Linked DNA regions of Homo sapiens: regions 1, 2 and 4 are each linked to region 3. Evidence: promoter capture Hi-C in human tissues and cell types (Jung and others, 2019). All regions are on one chromosome and are shown on one strand. The core of a region is centred on a gene start or on the middle of the fragment in contact, and the rest is flanking DNA. Distances in the headings are between cores, read along the strand shown. Region 1 overlaps SAMM50 (SAMM50 sorting and assembly machinery component). Region 2 has its middle 8.0 kb from the start of PNPLA5. Region 3 holds the start of ATXN10 (ataxin 10). Region 4 overlaps CERK (ceramide kinase).

What was found. The method cuts DNA at HindIII sites, captures the fragments that hold promoters and counts their contacts. A contact is called where the count stands out against the background at its distance.
Region 1: a fragment that was not itself captured here is called in contact with the fragment with the promoter of ATXN10 in region 3 in 1 of the 25 tissues and cell types used here (spleen).
Region 2: a fragment that was not itself captured here is called in contact with the fragment with the promoter of ATXN10 in region 3 in 1 of the 25 tissues and cell types used here (spleen).
Region 4: a fragment that was not itself captured here is called in contact with the fragment with the promoter of ATXN10 in region 3 in 1 of the 25 tissues and cell types used here (dorsolateral prefrontal cortex).

The regions. Positions count from the first base shown.
Region 1 is chr22:43,961,042-43,963,928 of GRCh38, reverse strand. It overlaps SAMM50 (SAMM50 sorting and assembly machinery component), which reads right to left. Exons shown (of 15, transcript NM_015380.5): 2 at 533-643. Among named protein-coding and RNA genes, the nearest start is that of SAMM50, 7.0 kb to the right of the region's middle. The HindIII fragment of the contact is 9,146 bases long and covers 1-2,887 here.
Region 2 is chr22:43,898,493-43,901,442 of GRCh38, reverse strand. No RefSeq gene overlaps it. Among named protein-coding and RNA genes, the nearest start is that of PNPLA5, 8.0 kb to the right of the region's middle. RefSeq lists an enhancer at 2,804-2,950. The HindIII fragment of the contact is 6,967 bases long and covers 1-2,950 here.
Region 3 is chr22:45,670,028-45,673,088 of GRCh38, reverse strand. ATXN10 (ataxin 10) reads right to left here and starts at 1,255. Exons shown (of 12, transcript NM_013236.4): 1 at 910-1,255. The coding sequence starts at 1,025. RefSeq lists silencers at 623-952, 1,283-1,332, 1,393-1,582. The HindIII fragment of the contact is 16,564 bases long and covers 1-3,061 here.
Region 4 is chr22:46,693,835-46,696,685 of GRCh38, reverse strand. CERK (ceramide kinase) reads left to right here. Exons shown (of 13, transcript NM_022766.6): 9 at 1,371-1,476. Among named protein-coding and RNA genes, the nearest start is that of CERK, 43 kb to the left of the region's middle. The HindIII fragment of the contact is 4,822 bases long and covers 1-2,851 here.

The sequences.
Region 1 (2,887 bases), core at 374-2,873, 1.7 Mb after region 3:
CTCAAAAAAAATTTTAAAAATAAAAAAAACAAAACAAAACTGTATGCATCCTCTAAAGACCCCGCAGGGATTTCAGGTGGCACAATAAATGCTGACTCAAACTGGCCCTCACCTCTCAGTCTCGCTAGAGAGTAAACTCTTCAAGAACTGGAAAAGCATATTCAAATTTCAAAGGTAATAAATTTAGGAAAAGTTTCATTTGAGACCCACAGTCTTTTTTCTGGGAGTAGGGAATGGAAATATAAATTTAAGTATAGTTTGAGTTTGTCCTTGATATATTTTTGGTTTTTGTCATAAATACAAAAGTGTGTTTGTCTAAACCTCCCACATAAAAATCACCAAGGAAGAGCGACTTCTTTAAAAATAGAAACTGTTTTTCTAAGAGTCATCAGTTTTTCTAGTTGTAGGTGGTTACAAACTCTTCTTTGATAAAGGCACGGAAACAGGTTAATTCCTTTACATCTCCCTAGTGGTGTATGGAAGTGAATGTTTCCACTAACAATTCTATCAAGACCTTCAACAGAAAACTCACATCTTTGTTTTCAAGAATTTCCTGTTTAGCTTCAGGCTCAACTTCAACAAATTCAGCTTCTTCTCCTAATCCTCCAAAATCAGGTCCACTTGATGGAAGAGGCTCCAAACTCTGAAAGGGAGGGAGCGACCACAGATAAATGACTTTGTCACATATATACACACACTTACCTTTGAGTTTTGTCTTTAGATGGTGCTGCAGAAAATTCAGTAGTTGTTCCCTTCAAGTAGAGGTAGGGGCAGGAATAGGGACCAGGGAGTAAAAAGGTGCCGTCAGCTATTGCTAATGAGCAAGTTCTTGGCTTGGTGGTTAACTCACTGGTGGTCACTAAATAAAATATAAAAACTAATTAACAGGGAAGGGCAGGGGGAGTGTGGTGGCTCATGCCTGTAATCCCAGCACTCTGGGAGGCCAAGGAGAAAGGATCACTTGAGGCTAGCAGCTTGAGACTAGCCTGCACAACACGGCAAGACCCCATCTCTAAAAAAAAAAAAAAAAAAAAAAAAAAAAAAAAATTAACCAAAAGGGTCACGCACAAATCCATGATGACATGTCATGGATGAAGGATTATGACCAACCTAATTCTGGACATCTGAGGCCCGATGGAAATTAAAAAATCATTTAAAAATAAAATGCCACAAAGGCATTTATCAGGGGAAAAAAGGAAAATAATTTGCTCTCCTGTTGTTACAGAAAGCATCCTAATTTTTAGAATTAAAATTGTACACATGTTAGGATAGCTACCTTGACAAACCAGATTACTAAGAAAACATTTTATGTAGACCCTGACAGGTTTTTTCATTTCAGAAAGTCTCATTCACATTAAAGGGAACTGCATATGCTCACAAAATGGACTCGAAAGCATCTCTTTCTATAATCTGAATTGATATTACCTCAAAATATTAAAGCAACTTCTGAATGAGCATTCTGTAGGCTGTGTCTCATCTAATATTTCCAGGAAGACATTGTATCTATCTATTTATCTATCTCTCTATATATATCTACATATAGTTAAGACAGACAGTCTCTGACTTACAATGCTTCAACTTACAGTTTTTTGACTTTACAATGATGCCAAAGTGATATGCGTTCAGGAGGAACTGCACTCCGAGCACCCACACAGCCATTCTGATTTTCACTTACAGTACTCAAGAAACTACATGAGATCTTCAACACTTTATTCTAAAATAGGCTTTGTGTTAGATGATTTTGCCCAACTGTAGGCTAATGTAAGTGTCGTGAGCACGTTTAAAGTAGGCTAGGCTAAGCTATGATGTTCTGTCGGATATGTGTATTAGATGCATTTTCAACTTACATTTCAACTTACGATGAGTTTATTGGGTTATAGTTGAGAAACATCTACATAAACATAATATCACATACACACACACACACAGACACACACACACACACATAATCACTTGAGCCTAGGAGTTTGAGACCAGCCTGGGCAATATAGGAGACTTCATCTCTACTAAAAATAGTAATAATAGTAAAAATAAAACATAAAGAAAGGTCAAGTATGGTGGGTCACACCTGTAATCCCAGCACTCTGAGAGGCCCAGATGGGAGGATTGCTTGAGCCCAAGAGTTCAAGATCATGCTAGGCAACATAATGAAGTCTCGTCTCTATTTTAAAATAATAGGCCAGGCACAATGACTCACACCTGTAATCCCAGAACTTTGGGAGGCCAAGGAGGTCAGATCACTTTAGGTCAGTAGTTTGAGACCAGCCTGGCCAACATGGTGAAACTCCATCTCTACTAAACAAATACAAAACTTAGCCAGGTGTGGTGGTGTGTGCCTGTAGTCCCAACTACTTGGAAGGGTAAGGCAGGAGAATCGCTTGAACCCAGGAGACAGAGGTTGCAGTGAGCTAAGATCACTCCACTGCACTCTAGCCTAGGTGACAGAGCAAGACTCCATCTCAAAAATAAAAATAAATATACTTATGTATACATTGTATTATATATACTTACATATTTAACATATACTATTTATTCAATTCTTATTTGTTCCTATGTTTGCTTGACCATAAGTCTCTGGGACACATGCTTAACCACACGAGGATTCCCAGTCACCTCTTAGAGATGGACACAGAAGGTCTAGTGTGGCACCAAGCGATTCTTACAAATCAGCAAGTTTGGAGAAAACTATGTGAACCAATATCTGACTATTTCCTTGCTCCAAGAATTCTCTACAATTAGGCACTTTTAAAGTGTGTGTTTAACATCTGCAAATATGGAGCAGTGGGGCCTCTGGGCTACTATCCACTTTTCCCCGGAAAGGTAACTGACCTGCCAGTATCATATTCCCTTTCCAGGCCCTTCCCTAAAAGCCTCTGATGATCCTCAG
Region 2 (2,950 bases), core at 312-2,811, 1.8 Mb after region 3:
AGGCAGGCGGATCACAGGAGATCAGGAGGTCGAGACCAGCCTGGCAAACATGGTGAAATCCCATCTGTACCAAAAATACAAAAATCAGCCAGGCATGGTGGCAGGTGTCTGTAATCACTGCTACTTGGAAGGCTGAGGCAGGAGAATCACTTGACCCTGGGAGGTGGAGTTTGCAACGAGCTGAAACCGTGCTACTGCACTCCAGCCTGGGCAACAGAGCAAGACTCTGTCTCAAAAAAAAAAAAAAAAAAAAAAAAAAAAGCCCCTCTCAGGTGTCTGCCCTGGCAGGGTGACAGGTACTCGTGGGTTTGGTGACAAGGTGATGGCAGGGTGACAAGGCCCTGGTTCCTGCTCCCACTCCTTAGCTGCCTTTGTCTCTCCTGTGGCCTCCTCTGCCTGCTCACTGGGCCACCAAGCCACGCTATGGCTTGTCCAGCACCCTGGCCAATGCCAGGCTTGGCACCTCCCCCACTGGGTGCCGTGTCTCTTGGCAGCCCGGGTTCCAGGGGTGGTCTGTCCATACAGCCCTTGGCTGGTTACCTGGAGCCCCCCAGGCCCACCCCTACCCATGATGGGTACCCAGAGAGTGCTGGAGACAAAGCTCCTGGGCAACTTTCTCCCTGACTGTGTTGCTGGCTGGCTCTCGGCCCTGAGAGGGCTCTGCTGGGGGCTCAGTCCCCATCCCCTCCTCCTTGTCTTCCAAGCCAGGAAGCTTTATTTTCCCCCTCCAGGAGGATGGAGCCCAGGCTTCATGGGGTGCTCCTATCTGAGCTCAGGTTCTGTGAGGGGCCTAGTGGCTTCCAGTTCCCTGTGCAGGGGAGTGTGGGGTGCGCACAGAAAGGAAAGCACGATTCTGGAACCACAGGGCAAGTGTGACTGGAGGGTTTCTGACCCCCCCGTTCTGATCCTGGCACTGACATTTCCTGGCTGCTGGGCCCTGGGTTATTTACGCAAATTTTCTGAGTCTCAGCTCCCTGTTAAGCGGGGGTGATATGCCTGCCACTCAGCAGGGGTGTCGAGGGTTAAGTGCTCTCTGGAGCTGAGTCCTCAGAAGGCACCAGGAGCTGGTGGCTTGGTTATTGTCATGATTGGCAGCTGGAGGTAGAGCAACCTGCTGTGGGAGACAGTCACCATCCCCATGTCCTGGGACGTGACGGCCACTGCTGTGCCCAGCACCTTTGGCACATCCCTCATCTCATCCTCACAATTGCTCAGGGAGAGGTGGCCCTGAACACCTCCATTTCACAGATGGGAAGACTGAAGTGCTGTCTTAGTCGGTCTTCTGCTGCTATCACAGAAAACCTGAGACTGAATCATTTATAAAGAAAAGGGACTTATTTAGCTCACGGTTCTGGAGGCTGGGAAGTTCAAGACTGAGGAGCCACATCAAGTGAGGGATGTCTGGCTGCATCATAACATGGCACAGGGAGAGGAAGGGAGAGCAAGACAGGCCGGACCCACAGGATAATGGCTGGAGTGCAATGGCGTGATCTCAGCTCACTGCAACCTCCACCTTCCAGGTTCAAGCAATTCTCCTGCCTCAGCCTCCTAAGCAGCTGGGATTACAGGCACCTGCTGCCACGCGCAGCTAATTCTGTTGTATTTTTAGTAGGGATGGGGTTTTGCCATGTCAGCCAGACTGGCCTCAGACTCCTGACCTCAGGCGATTCACCCAGCTTGGCCTCCCAAAGTGCTAGGATTACAGGTGTGAGCCACCACACCCGGCCCTGATTACCTCTTAAAGGTCCCATGTCTTAATACTGTCACAATGGCAATTAAATTTCAACCTGAGCTTTGGAGGGGATACAGTAGGCACAGGCACAGCAGGGTCAAGTGACTTGTTCAAGGTCTCTGACCTGGTCAGTGGCAGAGCTGAGATTAGAAACACGTCTGTCAGTTTGCAAAGCCCATGCTGACTGCCTGGCAACACAGCCACCCAAGACAGGCAAGGAGAGGGCTTCCGGGGCCAGGGGAAGGAGACAGCCCACCCAGAGCCCTTGTGCAATGCTTTCTGGCACAACAGGGCCTCCTGAAAAGACAGGTGGCAGCCTGGGGCACAGACTGGAGCCACTCTGCCTGCCAGTTCCCAGCTGGGTTAACCTGGGCAAGTTGCTTCATCTCCCTGGGCCTCAGTGCGAAATGCAGATAATCCAAGCACCTCACCTCCTGAGTTGTCATGAGGTAATCAGCTAATGATTAGAAAGTTACTTCACCTCCACTGGGCGCAGTGGCTCATGCCTGTAATCCCAGCACTTTGGGAGGCCAAGGCGGGCAGATCATGAGGTCAGGAAATCGAGACCATCCTGGCCAACATAGTGAAACCCCGTCCCTAATAAAAATACAAAAAAAAAAAAAATTAGCCAGGCATGGTGGCAGGTGCCTGTAGTCCCAGCTATGTGGGAGGCTGAGGCAGGAGAATCGTTTGAACCCAGGAGGTGGAGGTTGCAGTGAGCCGAGATCACACCACTGCACTCTAGCCTGGTGACAGAGCAAGACTCCATCCCCTGCCCTACAAAAAAAGAAAGTTACTTCATCTCACATTTCACTGTGCCTCTATTTCCCAATCTGTAAATCAGGGCTGACGGCAGTGGTTTGCTGAAAGGATTGAAGAAATTAACCCGGGTAAAATGCTTCCAGGGGTGCCTGGGACATTACACACTCAATCTGCATCAGCCATCATCTCTCCAGCCTGGCCCCCTCCTCCTTATCACTCCCCACACAGGGTCCTGCTTCCTTGAACAGCCAATCTGCTCTAACATCTTTGCTTATGCTGCTTCTGCTGCCTGGCAGAGGCCCTAGCCCCAGATATCCTATTTGTCATTTAGGTGTCAGCTTCAAACCCATCATCTCCAAGAAGCCTTCCTGACCACGAAATATGGAGTAGCTCCCTCTCCATGACGCCTCTGCTACAGCCTTTCTCACTAGCTGACCCATCTCTTGCTGACTTTTA
Region 3 (3,061 bases), core at 6-2,505:
CATTTACTCCTTATGACACTATCACCAGGGAGGTACTGTTCAACTTTACTCCCATTAAATAGACAAGAAAACTGAGGCCCAGAGGACAGAACAAGATCAAACAAGCATTGACTGAGGGCTTCGCACATTTTATATTTTCACGTACTTTATTTCATTTATTCCTCTGTACAATCCAGCAACTAAGCTGTGTATTATAGTCCCATTTTTAGACAAGAATTCTAAGGCCTGGAGAAACTGCACAGTAACACGCAGCTTGCAAGGCCAGGAACCAAATCCACAACTGTCGACTCCTGGGCACCTTCTCTTTTTGCCTGGCTATCTTGCCCCTCAGTGGCATCAGGACTGGACTGGTCTCTCCAGGCCCGTGCTCTTCCACACTGCACAGAGCGCTGCCCCCAGGGCAGATGGTGCAGCCTGGGCTCTAACGCCGAGGAGAAAGGAGTGCCAGTCCCACTCCATGCCTAGAGACTGCCATCCCCGCAACTGCCCAATTCCCGCGTCCGTAACACGGGTCTCTCCCGCTAAAACACACGCTTTATGACTCTGGGGGCCGCGTGGGTCTTGCAGCCAGGGCCTGGCGCAGCCCTCGCACATGACAGGGGAGGCCTAACCGTGTGTTGGGTCAACATCACCGGCACGCCGCGGCAAGGGCTCCCGGGATCGCGGCTTCGCACCCGGACTGGCTGCGGTGGGGGAGCGGGGCGCCCGCCCCAGGCCCCGCGGGGACCCACGAGCACGAGGCGGTGCCTGGGAGTCGGGAGGCCTGGGTGGCGCTCAGGCAGCCCGCGCAGGCCTCGCCCTCCGCGTCTCCAGCGAGGCGGGGGCGGCGCCTGGGTCCAGGCCGGGGCCGCCGCGGGAGTCCCGGCCGCCCTCCCCTGCCCGGGGCAGCCCCCCGGCCGGACCCGTTACCGGTTCCGCTGCTCTTTGAAGAGCGCCGTGAGCGCGCGCAGGGCCTCCAGGTCTTGGATGGGCGCCGGCACCATGACGCCCGACAGCCTGGCAGGCGGCGGCCTGGGCGCCGCCATCTTGCCGCTCACAGCTGGGTCGAGCCTGACGAGGAGGAGGAAGGCGAGGAGGACGAAGGGGGAGGATGACGAGGAGGGAGGAGTAGGATGGCGAGGAGGAAGGGGGAGGCCTCGCCCTACACAGCCCTAACCGCCGCCGCCGCTGCAGCCCGCGCTGCCCTGAAGCTGCGCCGCCGCCGGAGAGCTCTAGGCTGAGCCCAGACTCGCCTCAGGCGGGAGGAGGAGACGGCGCCGCGGGGGAGGGGGCGCCGGCGGAAGTCCCGCCTGAGGGGAGGGGGCGCGGCGGAAGTTCTGGGTGAGAGCGGGGAGGGATGCTGGGGGTGATTGACTGGGAAGCGTCGCAGACGGGGCTCCTCCGAGGGGAGGGGACGCCGGGGGGAGGGGGACCTGTGTTGATGTGGCCGTAACAGGGTCTCGGTCTTGGGAGCGGGTATCGGGAACCAGAGGTTCACCCTGAGAAAGAGGGGCGCGTCCTATAGGAGGGTGCCCGCGGACAGAGGGGTCTCCCCCAGGGGAGGGGATCCGGGGGGTAAGGGGCCTGTGGAGGGTGGGGCCGTAACAAGGTCTCGGTCTTGGGAGCGGGTATCGGGGACAGAGGTTCACCTTGAGGAAGAGGGGCCCTCCTGTGGGAGGGGGCCCGCAGACAGAGTGGTCTCCCCCAGGGGAGGACATTCTGGGTGGAGGGGACCCTCTTGGGAGGAGACGCTGACTGAGGGTCTCGGGAACGAAGGGGGCCGGGCAGAGGCTCCCACTGCTAAGGCTGAAGACCTTGATCCCACTGCTCAAGTGGGTTGATCAGTGCCCCCGCCCGGGTCCACTGGAAGCTGGAGCGGTCTGTCACTAGCTTGCAAGTCTCAGGCCCTGAAAACGCACTTCCCAGTACTTACTGATCATTGCTGATCAATACCAGACCACTTACCAGGCACTTTGCCTCTAGTGAGTATACATTGCTCCAGCTCCTCAAAGCCTTAAAATACCGTTCGAAGTCAAGAAGCTAAGTTACACAGCAATAGGGTTAGAATTGTTTTTTTTCCTAAGGGAAATGAATATATTTCACAGGAATCAGACAAGGCTTCTCTAGCTGGTGTTGATAACTCACATATTTTCTTTCCACTGCCCTTTATTACAGTGTATATACTTTCAACAAAAATTGTTGCTAAGCCCTGCGCTAGGTGCTGGAGATGTAAAGATTAATAAAAGACAGTTCCAAACCTGAAGGAACCTCACAGACTATTGAGAAGGAGAGAAGCAAACATAACTGAGTATAGTTGTGAACTGCTATAACTGTACAAATTGCTGTGGGACCACTTAAAATATATAAATACATACCCTTTACATTCTGCTTGGAGGGTAGGAGTGTGCTTATAACATGGCGCTTTTAACATTCTTTGCTAAATAAAATGTAAAGATAACAATAAACACCACCAGAGTATGCAGAAAAAGTGAATCCTGGTGGGGCATGGTGGCTCATGCCTGTAATCCCAGCACTTTGGGTGGCCAAGGCAGGAGGATTACTTGAGCCCAGGAGGTCGAGGCTGCAGTGAGCTGTGATCACACCACTGCACTCCAGCCTGGGTGGCAGAATGATACCCTGTATCAAAAAAAAAAAAAAAAAAAAAAAAAAAGGAGGGAGGGAAATGAATGCTGCTGCACAAGCAAGTTACTTGATATTGTCATTCAGTTTACCCATTTAATTGAGTATGTATTTATTCATTCCACGAATATTGCGGTGTACTATGTGCCAGGTATTAGATCACTTATTAGTAGCAGTGCTCAAGACAATGCAAAATGTTTAACACTCCTTAAGCTAACAGGGCAAAAATCTCTTAATTTTCCCTTGAGGAGCACAGGATAGTAAAATGTACTTGTTATGCACCAAAATCCTGATCTTTAGGCCAGACACGGTGGCTCATGCCTGTAATCCCAGCACTTTGGGAGGCCGAGGCGGGCAGATCACTTGAGGTCAGGAGTTCAAGATCAGTCTGGCCAACATGGCAAAACCCCCTTTCTACTAAAAATTAGCCAGGCATGGTGGC
Region 4 (2,851 bases), core at 163-2,662, 1.0 Mb before region 3:
GCTGTGAGGCAGAAAGCACCCGGTTGTTCTGGAGCAGCACAGAGGGCATGGAAGGAGAATGAGCGTGTGGAAATGACACACTCTGTTGAGACACGTGGAGTTTTAGGTGCCGGTAGGACATCTGGGGCCCATCTAGGGGCAGACAGAAACCGGGACATCAGATGTCGGTGAGGCGCCACCCTGGAGGCTGCGTCTGGGTGATGAGGCAGCTGCCCCCCTGCCCCCTGCACTTGAGAGAGGAGCCGGCTTGGAAGGTTGCTGACCAGTGGGTCGGCCTCCTCCCAGGGCCGTGGACACGACGTCCTTGTGGGACCCCCATGGGAGGAGCAGGGAGAGAGGCCAGAGCCACTCTGCAGGGAGGCGGAGCTGCAGCCACCTGGAAGGGCCCGCCCGCTGAGTGCATTCCAGGCACCTGGCCCATGCCAGGTGCAAGACCCACAGACGGGGCTGTCCTAGGGACAGTCGGGAGCTGACTTTCAGGCACACAGATGTCCTAGGAGCCAGACTGCTCTTGCCGGCAGCTTCCCCCACCCCTGGGCGGTGCACACTTGGCTGTGGGCTTGCCATCTGCGGATGAGGATGTGAGGCCTCTGTGTGTCGGGGGTAAGGTTGTGTGTGACGGCCCTGCAGGCCGTCACTGCCACACCAGATGTCATACAGGGCAGCACCAGCCCCAGCATCAGACACGGAGGAGTGAAGTCGCCCTGAGACTCACAGGACACGGCCTGGCTCCTGGTGTGGCCCACGACACCCTGGGGCCCCTCTCCTGCCTCCTGCCCAGTCCCTGCTGTCCTGCTGGGTGGTGTTTCCCAGACAGCCCGGGTGCCAGGCTGCTGGCAGCCCCGTGGACAGCGCACACGTTTGCCTGGAGGGTGGCCCCAGACTTTGGGTGGCAGCGGCCCTGGCCTCTGTCCTGAGCTGTTCAGGACGTCACAGGGGCTGTGGCTGACCCCAGTGGGGGCCAAGCCCTGAGGCAGGTGGGGGCATCACTGACCCTCATGAAGAGGTGGAGGGGATGACCCTGAGCCACTGGAGCCCACAGGCCACATCATCGAGGCTATGAGGGGTGGCTAATGGCAAAGGCCCCACTTTGCCAGCGTCAAGAGTGGCCATAGCCCTGGCTGTCCCAGCATCACTGGGTGTCAGAAGGCACCAGCACTATGACTAGACGTGCTGTTGTCCTGAGGGAGGGCAGAGACCCTGCCACTGCCTTCAATGGTGACATGGCCTGAAGCAGGCCCGGCCTCTCCCTCCTGCAGACGGTTTAGGCAGATGCGCGCTCAGCGACATTTCTGAAGCTGCCCAGCACAGCATCCTAACCAAGCAATGACCCTTGTGGATGTTTTTTCTTCACTGCACTCTGTTCCCAGGTTTAAAGACCTTCCTCTCCCACCACTGCTATGAAGGGACAGTGTCCTTCCTCCCTGCACAACACACGGTGGGATCTCCAAGGGATAGGAAGCCCTGCCGGGCAGGGTAAGTGCATTGCTTTGTGTGTTTCTCTTGCAAATGACGGGAAATGAAGCAGGACGGTTAGGAAGGTGAATGCAGAAGTATTTTCCAAATGTGGTGGAAGGTGCCGGATGTAGCGTGCCCAGACACACGATGCCTATGATGCCCATGATGGCCTAGGCGTGCATGGGGCTTGCTGTCCCCATCTCTGTCCCCATGGCCTGCGCAGGCAGCTGCTGCTGTGCCAGGGATGAGGACTCTGGGGGAGGGTCCCACACCCACTGTTGGAGTGGGGGCTGAGCACAGGGTCTTTCCCTGCTGGGGTTCCCTTTACCCCCTGCAGGGGCCTGATGGAGGAGAAATGCAGGCAGGAAAGGATGGCAGACACCTTATCAGTGACTGTGCGTGTGCAGGGCACTGGTGGCAGGACCGTTGGTAGAGCTGGCTGAAGTGTGCACTCTCAGCAGCCACCCTCCTGTCCACACCCCTGGCTGAGACCCTCACCCATGTTAGCCCCATGCTCCAAGGCAGGAGCCCACTCTAAGGTTAGCAGAGCCCAGGCCAGCCACGCCTTCAACCCCACAGGAAGGCAGGGACCCTCAGCAAGAAGGCTCGGGCTGGCAACAAGGGCTGGTGCCAGGGGTTGGGGGGCAGAGCCAGGGCAGCTGCCCAGGGAGAGGGGATGCAAAGGGAAAGAGGCGCCCCACCGGGGAGGGGAGGCTGAGTGCAGACAACACAGCTGGAAACGCTGCGCTCTCCCCTTACATTTGGTCCCCCAGTTTGGCCACTGCAGGCTCTGCAATGGTGGCTACGCCACTGAACAAGCAGGGACTCCTTTCACCTGGCATATCTCCGCCCCCACCCCCACACAGTGTATTCAGTAATATGCGACCAGTGTAAATAGAACCTTAAATAAATCTAAACATAGTTGTCCCAGGCCGCATGACCTCCCTAGTGACCATGGAGGGCGCCTGAATGGTCATCCTGTCTCTGCTCTGCCTGGGGCTGAGGACACGGGGCTGTGGAGACAGCTGCGCCTTTGTGAAGGACACTCACGTCCTTTCCTTTTAAGTCATGCAGACTTCAGAACCTCCTTCTAGCTCCTTTCCTTTTTTAAGTGAAGAATTGGAGACCATAAAATCAGAATATGTAGAGGCAGATGCTGTTTGCGTCAGTGCATTAAAGAACTCGGCTGCTGATGAGCGATTTCCATCAGTGCAAACAGTGTCCTGTTTGACAGCGTGAATCCGGCAGCCCCCAAGATCAGAAGGACGTGCTAGACGAATGACTAAGTTCTAAGCTGATGGTTCTGAGTTATTTGCTTGTTATTGACTGTAACAGATAAACCCTGTATGATTTGTTTTCTGAAAGTAAATGAGTCCTCACCCCAGGAGTCCGC